Regions from separate parts of the Homo sapiens genome. Here region 1 is linked to region 2. Evidence: promoter capture Hi-C in 16 types of primary human blood cells and fetal thymus (Javierre and others, 2016). All regions are on one chromosome and are shown on one strand. The core of a region is centred on a gene start or on the middle of the fragment in contact, and the rest is flanking DNA. Distances in the headings are between cores, read along the strand shown. Region 1 overlaps BTBD16 (BTB domain containing 16). Region 2 holds the start of ARMS2 (age-related maculopathy susceptibility 2).

Region 1 (5,096 bases), core at 2,037-4,536, 130 kb before region 2:
TTTCTCACTTGTAAATAAAATAATTATTGGGATTATCTGTTCCTAAGCATGGCTCCCGCACTGGCCATTTGCAGCAAGGGCTGTGTCTTACTCCCTTTACCCTCCCAGTCCTCAATCTTTCATTAAAGAACAGCTTCTAGCTGTTGACTAAGTACTGAATGAATGGTGCTTTGAATGTTCTTTAATGGTGGTTTTAACCTCTGAAATATTTCACTTTAACTCTGAAAATTACTCTAAATTGCATGTCAGGTACACAGTGTAAGAAGGAATATAGTGACTTTCTGGCCAGTTGTTTAGTGTTAAATGGAAACAAGTGTCATGTTTACAGAGTGATAGCTTGAAGTGCACAAAGCATGGGCTGGTTTCAGTCCTGCTGGGTATGGATTTGATCTTGATTTGCAACTTTCTCCCTCCAGCCTTAGGCATTACGGTGTGTGTGCTACATTTCAAGTGGAACAGTCTTCTCAGGGCCTAGGGATGACTCTCCAGTTGCTTTGTGTATGCTCAGGCTCAGCAGGAGATTGACAAGTAGCTTCTTGTTGCTTCTTATGTGTCCTTTTATGGTATGTGGGACAGGGCTGGATCTGAATGACTGCTAGAAGGGTGGAGAATTCAGTCCTCAATCAGGTGAAATTGGTCAGTATTATTAGAAGCAGAAAATGTCTTCCCACCTTCAAAAACCCTTCTGCAGGAGGATAGTGTAGAACTCTTCTTGTGATTATACTAATTGAAATGAGTGGCAGTTTGGGAGCTACAGGACAGCAAAATGCATTCAGTTCATGTCAGTTTGTAAATTACTCACTTTACTAAATCAAAGAAGGTCGATGCTGGAAAGTGCCTTAGAGATCATCTGGTCTCACCCTTTCATTTTGCAGTTGAATAAGCTAAGGCCCAGGGATAATGAGGAGGTTACTTAGGCTCCTTTTGCAAATTGATGGTGGTCCTGGGGTTGACCTTGGTCTTCTAGGTCTTCTGACACTCTTAGCTCTTAGGATCAAGGGCAAATCATAACAGACATGTAATTCTAATCCTTAGCTGATTTATAATCACTAAATAGGTATCTCTCAGACACTGAAGGGTAGATTCTGGCAATGAGCTTCCACCTCACCAGAGGGAAGTAATTTGAATGTAGCCAATGAAGCCAATTCCCATATGATCCCAACTTCTAGATTCCCCTGATTCTCCAGCTGAGTCTCTTCTTTCCTGTGCCCTACCCAAATCTGACCCAGCCTTTACAGAGCTTGACAAAGCCGGTTCCAGAAAGCCTTCTCTGATCTCACTTGTGCACTGGATGAATTCCTCCTCTTAGCTCCTCTTTGCGGAGAGAAAAAGAGCATGTGCTGGCTGCATGGGTGTGCACTGGTGAACCCAACAGCACCTTCCCCCACCCATTCCCCCCACATACTATTCCCAAGGGACCGCAGGGGGAAACTTTTAAGGAGAGCTTCCCTGCCATGCCCTGTACCATGGGTGCCCTGAGCCCACTGATTTCTTGAGGGCAATGTGCTATGATGCTGTGTCCCCAGGGTGGGCGAGGCCATGTGCCTCTTGTGATTCATGAATGGCATTTGCAGATGTAGCCAGAGTTAGCATGAAACTGGGCAACCCTGGTGTGTCAACACTGATCTCTTTACCAGCACATTAATTTTGAAATATCCCATGAGTCATGGACATTAGGGCCATTAAATTGTTCTCTTTTAGAATAGCTCAACAAAGCCTTGTGCAGGGAGGTTGGTATATTCTGGGTCAAGAGGATTTCTCATTATCTGACGTTCATGCTTCTTGCCTTGTTGTGTCTTCTCTTGCTCTGAGAGGTGATGACTCTGCTCCCCTTTAACTTGGATCTCTGGAACCTGAGTCTCTCTTGTTCTCAAGGTCCCTAAATATTATGCTTAGTTCTTACTAACTTTCCACTTCCGCCATGTTGCTTCTTGGCTTCCCAGGCATATTGAGAAGCACCAAAACATACCTTCAACAATAAGCATGGAGAAGTGGAAGGAGCACAAGAGTCTGGGTGTAGGAGTTTCTTAAAAAGGGCAGCTGTGGTTATGATTAGACAGGATTTCCCTTTGTGCTAGGGTCAGGACCATCTTGACAGACAGAAGGACATTGAACTTGGTCTCAGTGAAAAGCTGATAGGTCATGGTGACAGCAGACAGGACCACATGGGCATGGAGATAGTGGCATAGACTGGCCTGTATGTGCAGCAAGTGTGTGTGAGCATGTGCACCAGGGCTGGCCCTACTGGCCTAGAAGATAAGTTGTGGGTGAATGGAGGGATGGGATGATGGAAATGAGGCTGGAAAGTTGGCAGGGACCAGGTCATTCATCCAATTAATTCACCCAACATATTGCAAGTTAAGTGCCAGGCACTATAAAAGACACCAAGAGTACAACAATAAACAATGCAGACACAAACCCTGTCATCATGGAGCTTGCAATCTAGGAGCAGAGACAAGCAATAAATCAGATGTATGTTAGAAGAAGTCAGCCCCGAGTCTCAGCCCCACCTCTGCCATTCACTGCCTGTAGACTTTGGGCAAGCACCCTAAGCACCGTGCATGGAGGTAACAACACACACTCACCAGGACTGATGGGTAGGTCAGCCCTGACTCAAAGAAAAGGCCCAGGACAGCATGTGACAGGGGTTCTAAAATGTGGTGACCTTTGGTAGGTTATGATGTGGGGGTGGCAGCAGGAATTATTGTTTCATTTACCACACTTGAGTGTTAGGAGCCAAGAGGACCATTTCCTGGTTTTGTATATATAGATAGATAGATTTTTTTTTTTTTGAGATGGAGTCTCGCTGTGTTGCCCAGGCTGGAGTGCAGTAGCATGATCTTGGCTCACTGCAACTGCTGCCTCCCATGTTCAAGCAATGCTCCTGCCTCAGCCACCCGAGTAGCTGGGATTACAGGCACCCACCACCATGCCTGGCTAATTTTTGTATTTTTAGTAGAGATGGGGTTTTACCATATTGGCCAGGCTGGTCTCCAACTCCTGACCTCAGGTGATTCACCCACCTCGGCCTCCCAAAGTGCTGGGATTACAGGCGTGAGCCACTGTGGCTGGCCTCCATTTTCTGGTTCTTTGATTTCAGGAGTGTCCCAAGTCTTCTATGCTGAGTTATATTTTGAGAAAAAAAAAAAGCCATTTTCTCTTCTCATTGTGAGTTATTGCCCTAAAATGTGTATTTTTTTCAAACGTTGTCTTAAAATTTAATATGTTAGTTCAGGTGTTTCTCAAATAAGCAAAGTCACTTTTAACCCTAATGTCTTTTTTCAACTGGGGCAAAATATGCATAGCATGAATTTTTCCCATGTGAACCATTCTTACGTGTTCAGTTCAGTGGCGTTAAGTTTATTCGCATTGTTGTGCAGCCATCTCCAGAACTTTTCCATCTTCCCAAACTGAAACTCTACCCATGAAACAACTCCCATTCCCCTTCCCCAGCCCCTGGCAGCCACCGTTCTACTTTCTGTCTCTACGAATTTGATGACTCTAGGTACCTCATAGAGTAGAATCATCCAGCATTCACCCTTGCGCCTGGCTTACTGCTTCCAGGTTCATCATGCTGTAGCATATATGTATGTTAAGGCTAAAATCTGAAGTGCTTGGACTATCAGAGCTGTGGGCCTGATACTCGCAGGAAGGGTGGAAGGCTCCAGCAGATGACAGGGTAGAGGAAGTGAGAAAGTTGTGGCGAAGAGCACCTCTAAAATACAATATGTACCCATCAGAGGGAGACTTGTCCCCAGGTACTGTCTTTCCGAGTCTATGGGAGATTTGTCCCCAGGGTCTGGCAAGTAGGACCCAGGGCCAACCTGGATGTATCTTTCAGTAGCAAGGAACTGTGAACTGTCTTCCCTAGAGGGGTCATGCCCCAGGGTTTCTCAGTGAACTTTGGGAGGCATAGACCATCGCCTGAAGGTGTCTCAAAAAAATAAGTGCTAAACCAAAAGAGGTCTTTGCACAAACAGAGCGCAGTACCAGGGAAACCATGCCAGTCTTTGAGTCCACCAGTGTAGCCAAGCACTGTAGTCCCCAGACTTAGCAGCTGCTTGCTCCCTCCCATCTTACGTGACACCATGTGAATGTACTCACCACTGGACCAGAGAGGAGCAGGTGCCTCCGCTCCCAGACAGTTAAGTGGCGCCAAGTAAAATGGAAAATGTGCTGGACTAGCCCTGAGTGGCCTGTGTAGGACACTGGCTCTAAGACAGTGGACCTTGCTAGGCTCCCAGAGCCGGGTTATATTGATCAGTTCTGAGGGTGGACCACAACCCTTAGATCCTTTGAGATTTCAGGAAATCAGAAGCTGAGGACACCACTTTCTATCTTTGAGGTGGCCCATAACTTGGGTGATTTGGAGGGTGGCAATGATGATGAATACCACCAGGAACAATTGCCTGCATTTGATGCTGCTTGAGTCCATTCACTTTCCCTGGGGCGGGAGGACAATGGTGGTGCTTATAGATGTTGAGGACTCACTGGGAGCCAGCAGCTGGCCCAAGCCCTTCCCAAACACTGTCAGCTTTACTCCTCCCTTCTCCCCAAGGCACCACCTGTGGCTACTGCTCCCACTTGACAGAGGAGAGTGAAGCTCTGAGAGGCCCGGTCACAGGACTGTGGCTGGCTGGGCTGGGACGGGACCCTGGTCTGCCTGCCTCGGGGGTCCCAGCTTGGTTGGATGATGAGATGACTCATGGCCTCTCCATGTCATCCACAAAAGTGGGCATCATTGCCACTTCCCAGAGGCCCCAAGGGGTCATAAAGTCCAACAAGCTGTCTCAACAAAGCTGTTTCCAAATCCTCTGGGACAGGATGGCTGTCCAGAGAGGCCCTGGCTGAATGGCCTTCGAGTCTGAGTGCCTCTCAAAGGGAGGATCAGGGTCTCGGTTCCTCTTGCCCCTGCCAGCAGCCTTGCCATGCCAAGGCACATCAGCAGAACCGGCGTCTGGAGCTTCCTGGTGGAGGGCAATGCTTTCCTCCAGATGGGGCCTTTCCTTTCTGGAACTGAATCTGTATTTCAGCCACAGCTCCAGCCGGGGCCCACTGCTTAGGGCAGCACCCGGCTGTGGAGCGCTGGCCATAGG
Region 2 (5,344 bases), core at 2,722-5,221:
GAGTGCCAGCGCTGGATTAGGCCTGGGCATCCAGAAAGTGCCCACAAGAAGTGGAGGCCAGTGGGAGAGACACAAGTGCTACAAGGCGAGGTGACAGAGCTCTCCGAAGGATGGAGAAGGGGCTGTGGCGGCTGGCCCAGTGGAAAAGTACCTCGACCATGATTCATCAGGGTAATGCTCCGTTGGTGCCAGGCCATCACCCCGTCTGGGAGTGCAGACAGCTGACAGCTGAAAGTCACATCAAGAATGGAATCAATTCTACGGGAAGAAAGTAAATGAAAGTTAAGATAAAAATGCATTACTTCAGTGCTATACCTTCTGCTGCAAGCATCTGTTTAATACAAGCAACATGAGACTAGCGCCTGCTACGTGGCGGGCGCTGTCTGGGCATAGTGGGCAAGGCAGGCTCCTGTGCCAGGCAACTCCCAACCTGACTGAGGAAGACAATGTGGTGGCCCACCCGACACAGACTGGCTGATTAAATAAGGGTTATGAGTTAGACAAATAAAATACCTGGTGCTGCTGAATTTCACATCTCTAAGGACATTACTCTGGCTCTAGACCAACTGGGTGGCTTAAACGTGGATCCAGATAGTGTCAGTACACAGAAATTACCTGTGTGTGGTTCTCAGCCCTGCTGCTCATTGGAGTCCCTGGGAGCTCTTCAAATTAGAGACGCTAGGGATGCTCAGTCCCTGCCCCCTCCCCCTGAGTTTTTAAAAATAGCTTTATTGCGATACAATTCAAATAAAATACAATCTACCCATTTAAAGTATACATTTCAGTGGTTTTTAGTATATTCATGGATATGGACAACCATCAACAGCACAGTCAATTTTTTTTTTTTCTTTGAGATGGAGTCGCCCAGGCTGGAGTGCAATGGTGTGATTTTGGCTCACTGCAACCTCTGCCTCCCTGGTTCAAGTGATTCTCCTGCCTCAGCCTCTCGAGTAGCTTGGATTACAGGTGTGTGCCACCACGCCCGGCTAATTTTTGTATTTTTGGTAGAGATGGGGTGTCACCATGTTGGCCAGGCTGGTCTCGAACTCCTGACCTCAAGTGATCTGCCTGGTTTGGCCTCCCAAAGTGCTGGGATTACAGGCTTGAGCTACCGAGTCCAGCCAACACAGTCAATTTTAAAACATTTTCCTTATCTCAAAAAGAAACCCCATACTCTTCAGCTATTCTTTTTATTTTCTATTAAATTTTTTTTTTTTCTTTTTTTTTGTTGAGATGGAATCTGGCTCTGTCACCCAGGCTGGAGTTCAGTGGCGCAATCTCGGCTCACTGCAACCTCTGCCTCGTGGGTTTAAGCAATTCTTTTGCCTCAGCCTCTGGAATTACAGGCACGCGCCACCATGCCCTGCTAATTTTTGTATTTTTAGTAGAGACAGGGTTCCACCATGTTGGCCAGGCTGATCTGGAACTCCTGACCTCAAGTGATCTGCCCGCCTCGGCCTCCCAAAGTGCTGGGATTACAGGTGTGAGCCACCGCACCTGGCCAACTATTTTAAAAAATTTTAAGAGACTGAGTCTCACTCTGTCACCCAGTCTGGTGCAGTGGCACGATCATGGCTTCAGCCTTAAAGTCCTGGGCTCAAGCAATCCTCCCACCTCAGCCCCCCGAGTAGCTGGGAATACAAGTGTGCACAGTCACACTAAACTAAAAAAAAAAAAAAAAACTAATTTTATTTTATTTTATTTTATTTTTTATTTATTTATTTTTTGTAGGGATGGGTTTTTGCTATGTTGCCTAGGCTGGTCTCAAAGTCCTGGCCTCAAGCAATCCTCCTGCTTCATCCTCCCAAAGTGCTGTGATTACAGGCATGAGCCACTGTTCCCAGCCTCTCCCCACTCTTCTAGCCCTAAGCAAGCACAAATCTATTTTCTGTATCTGTAGATTTTCCTGTTATACACATTTCTTATGAATGAAATCATATAATATGTTGTCTTTTGTATCTGGCTTCTTTCATTTAGCCCCATGCTTTCAGGGTTCACCATGTTGTAGTGGGTATTTTATTCTTTTTTATGGCTGAATAGTATTTCATTTTATGGATATGCCATAATTTATCTGTTATCAGTTGATGGACATTTGGGTTGTTTCTACCTTTGGGCTGTTATGAATAGTGCTGCTATGAACATGTGTGTTCCAGTTTCTGTATGGACACATGTTTTCCTTTCTCTTGGGTAGCTACCTAGGAATGGAAATGCTGGATCATATATTCACTCTGTTTGAAGAACTGCCAGACTGTTTTCCAAAGCAGCTATACCATTTTACAATCCCACTAGCAGTGCATGAGGATTCTGATTTCTCCACATCCTTGCTGATACTTGTTATCATCTGACTTTTTGATTCTGGCTACCTTAGTGCCTATGAAGTAGTATCTCAATGTGGTTTTGATTTGTTGATTTGCTGATGACTAGAGATGCCAAGCATCTTCTCATGTGTTTATTTGTGCTCTTAGAGTTTTTAATTCAGTTGGTCTGGAATAGTTTTTTTTTTCCTTTTATTTTTTATTTTTTTGAGACAGAGTCTTGCTCTGTCACCAAGCTGGAGTGCAGTGGCGTGATCTTGGCTCACTGCAACCTCTGACTCCCTGGTTCGGGCTATTCTCCTGCCTCAGCCTCCCGAGTAACTGGGATTACAGGCACGCACCACCATGCCCAGCTAATTTTTGTATTTTTAGTAGAGCCAGGATTCCACCATGTTAGCCATGATGGTCTCGATCTCCTGAGCTCGTGATCTGTCCACCTTGGCTTCCCAAAGTGGTGGGATGACAGGCGTGAGCCATGGCGCCCGGCTTTTTTTTTCCTTTTAAAAAAGTGTTTGGCTGGGAGAAGTGGTTCACACCTGTAATCCCAACACTTTGGGAGGCCGAGGCAGGAGGATCACTTGAGCCCAGGACTTCAAGACCTGCCTGGGCAACATAGTAAGACCCCATCTCCAAAAAAAAAAAAAAAAAGTAAATTAGCCAGGCGTGGTGCTGCACACCTGTGGTCCCAGCTACTTGGGAGGCTGAGGTGGGAGGATCACCTGAGCCGAGGAGTATGAGGCTGCAGTGAGCCATGATCATGCCACTGGATTCCAGCCTGGGTGACAAAGTGAGACCCTGTCTCAGAAAAAAAAAAAAAGGCTGGGGGGCCTGGGCTAGGATTATGCCTGTAATCCTAGCACTTTTGCAGGTAGATTGCTTGAGCTCGGAGTTCGATACCAGCCTGGCAACATGGCAAAACCTGGTCTCTACAAAAAACATAAAAAATAGCTGGGCGTGGTCTGTAGCTGTAGTCCCAGCTACTCAGGTGGCTGAGGTAGGAGGATCACCTTAGCCCGAGGATGTTGAGGCCACAATAAGCTGTGGTCATACCACTGCACACCAGCCTGGACAACAGAATGAGACCCCATCTCAAAAAAAAAAGTTTTTTATTTTGAAATAATTTTAGGTTTAGAGAAAAGTTGAAAAATAGTAAAACAACAACAACAACAAAAAAACAACAAAAAATCCCAAAACCCCCAAAACTCTCATTGACCCTTATCTCAGATTTCCCGAATGCTTACCACCCTCGCTACATCATTCAAGTTCTTGGAAACATTTAAAGCATGTGAAACATTTAAAACATTTAAGTTGGAGGCTTTAAGTTGCACGTCCTTTATTTCTAAATATTTCAGTGTGTTTTTCTTAAAAAAAATTTTCTCATACCACAGTAACATGATCAAAATTGGAAAATCAACATTGATTCAATACTATGATCTACAATCAAGGTTTTTTTTTTTTTTCAAATCCCTGGGTCTCTGCATTTTTTAAAAGCTTCACAGATGATTTCAATGGATACTAGGGACCTCTGTTGCCTCCTCTGGCAGAGCAGGACTGAGGGGTGGACCCTCCCTGAGACCACCCAACAATTCAGGGTGGAGTTATCAGGGCGCCCTGACTCCTGGGGGCATTTTTGTGTGACGGGAAAAGACAATGCTCCTGGCTGAGTGAGATGGCAGCTGGCTTGGCAAGGGGACAGCACCTTTGTCACCACATTATGTCCCTGTACCCTACATGCTGCGCCTATACCCAGGACCGATGGTAACTGAGGCGGAGGGGAAAGGAGGGCCTGAGATGGCAAGTCTGTCCTCCTCGGTGGTTCCTGTGTCCTTCATTTCCACTCTGCGAGAGTCTGTGCTGGACCCTGGAGTTGGTGGAGAAGGAGCCAGTGACAAGCAGAGGAGCAAACTGTCTTTATCACACTCCATGATCCCAGCTGCTAAAATCCACACTGAGCTCTGCTTACCAGCCTTCTTCTCTCCTGCTGGAACCCAGAGGAGGTTCCAGCAGCCTCAGCACCACCTGACACTGGTAAGAAATGCAGATGATCAGGCCTTACCCCAGACCTATTGAATCAGAAATTCTGGAGTGGTGCCCTGCAGCTTGCATTTTAACCAGCCTTCAGGTGCTTCTGATGCATGCTCAGGTTTGAGCACCACTGGCCACAGGGAGGCCTAGGCAATTCAGCCTTCCTCTGGTTGAATAGCTGGAGAATTGGGAATATCAGTAAATACTTCCAATGCACCTGCTACATGCCAGAAAAAGGAAACAAGAAGACGCAGTAGGTCTGAGAAAGTGATGGGGTGAGCAGAAACCCAAAGCTTATAGAAGGCCATCTGAGTGGCCCCTCAAGCCGGTGAATTGGCTTTAGGGTTTACTGAAGGAGGTGGAAACCTCAGCCTGCTTCTCGTCCGGGTTGTTAGAGGAGTCATTTAGAAAGCTGTACCATTCTTTCAATATTCTCACGGCTTTCCAGTGCTCATTTTTCCTGCTCATTTATGGATTAAAAAAAATGCCTTGGCTGTATGTGTAAGAAAACAACAATGCAAGTTTGTAGAGAAAGAATCTGGGCCTTACAGGTCACGTTGGTTTAAAATTTAGACATCAAGCAGCTTAGAGACCATGTTGCCAAATAAGCTTAGTAAATGCTTTCTAATGCTTACGGAACTGTGGCGCTTTGTGCTTGCCATAGTATATATAATTAGACAAATGAGAGAACACAAAGGTTGAACCCCTTCCCTCTCTTAATTTTTGTTTTTTACAAGCAGATTTAAAATTCTGGCTCATAATGTCCTTGATTCAATGTTAAACCATTTTGCCTAAATGGCAGCATGTTCTAAATGTGAGCGCGCTCAGCTTTTCAAGCTGCTCCCGAGTGACAGAAATTGACAAGCTGTCATTCAAGACCTTTCGGTGGCTGCCTGGGGCTCTGTTTGAATTGTATCTGTCTGATACTTTACCATGGAGAGTGAAAAATTTGATCACATGCCATGCTTTTAATTTTCTAAAGCAAATATGTTGGAAGGAGCCAA

Evidence for each region. Contacts are between HindIII fragments. The CHiCAGO score rates a contact against its expected background, and 5 or more counts as called.
Region 1: a fragment that was not itself captured here is called in contact with the fragment with the promoter of ARMS2 in region 2 in 6 of 17 cell types (non-activated CD4 T cells, activated CD4 T cells, total CD4 T cells and 3 more); the score reaches 7.2 in non-activated CD4 T cells.

Annotation. Positions count from the first base shown.
Region 1 is chr10:122,322,902-122,327,997 of GRCh38, forward strand. All of the region lies in intron 10 of BTBD16 (BTB domain containing 16), which reads left to right. Among named protein-coding and RNA genes, the nearest start is that of PLEKHA1, 49 kb to the right of the region's middle. The HindIII fragment of the contact is 6,579 bases long and covers 1-5,096 here.
Region 2 is chr10:122,450,682-122,456,025 of GRCh38, forward strand. ARMS2 (age-related maculopathy susceptibility 2) reads left to right here and starts at 3,972. Exons shown (of 2, transcript NM_001099667.3): 1 at 3,972-4,343. The coding sequence starts at 4,047. It overlaps HTRA1-AS1 (HTRA1 and ARMS2 antisense RNA 1), which reads right to left. Exons shown (of 3, transcript XR_946382.3): 3 at 1-258. The HindIII fragment of the contact is 827 bases long and covers 3,805-4,631 here.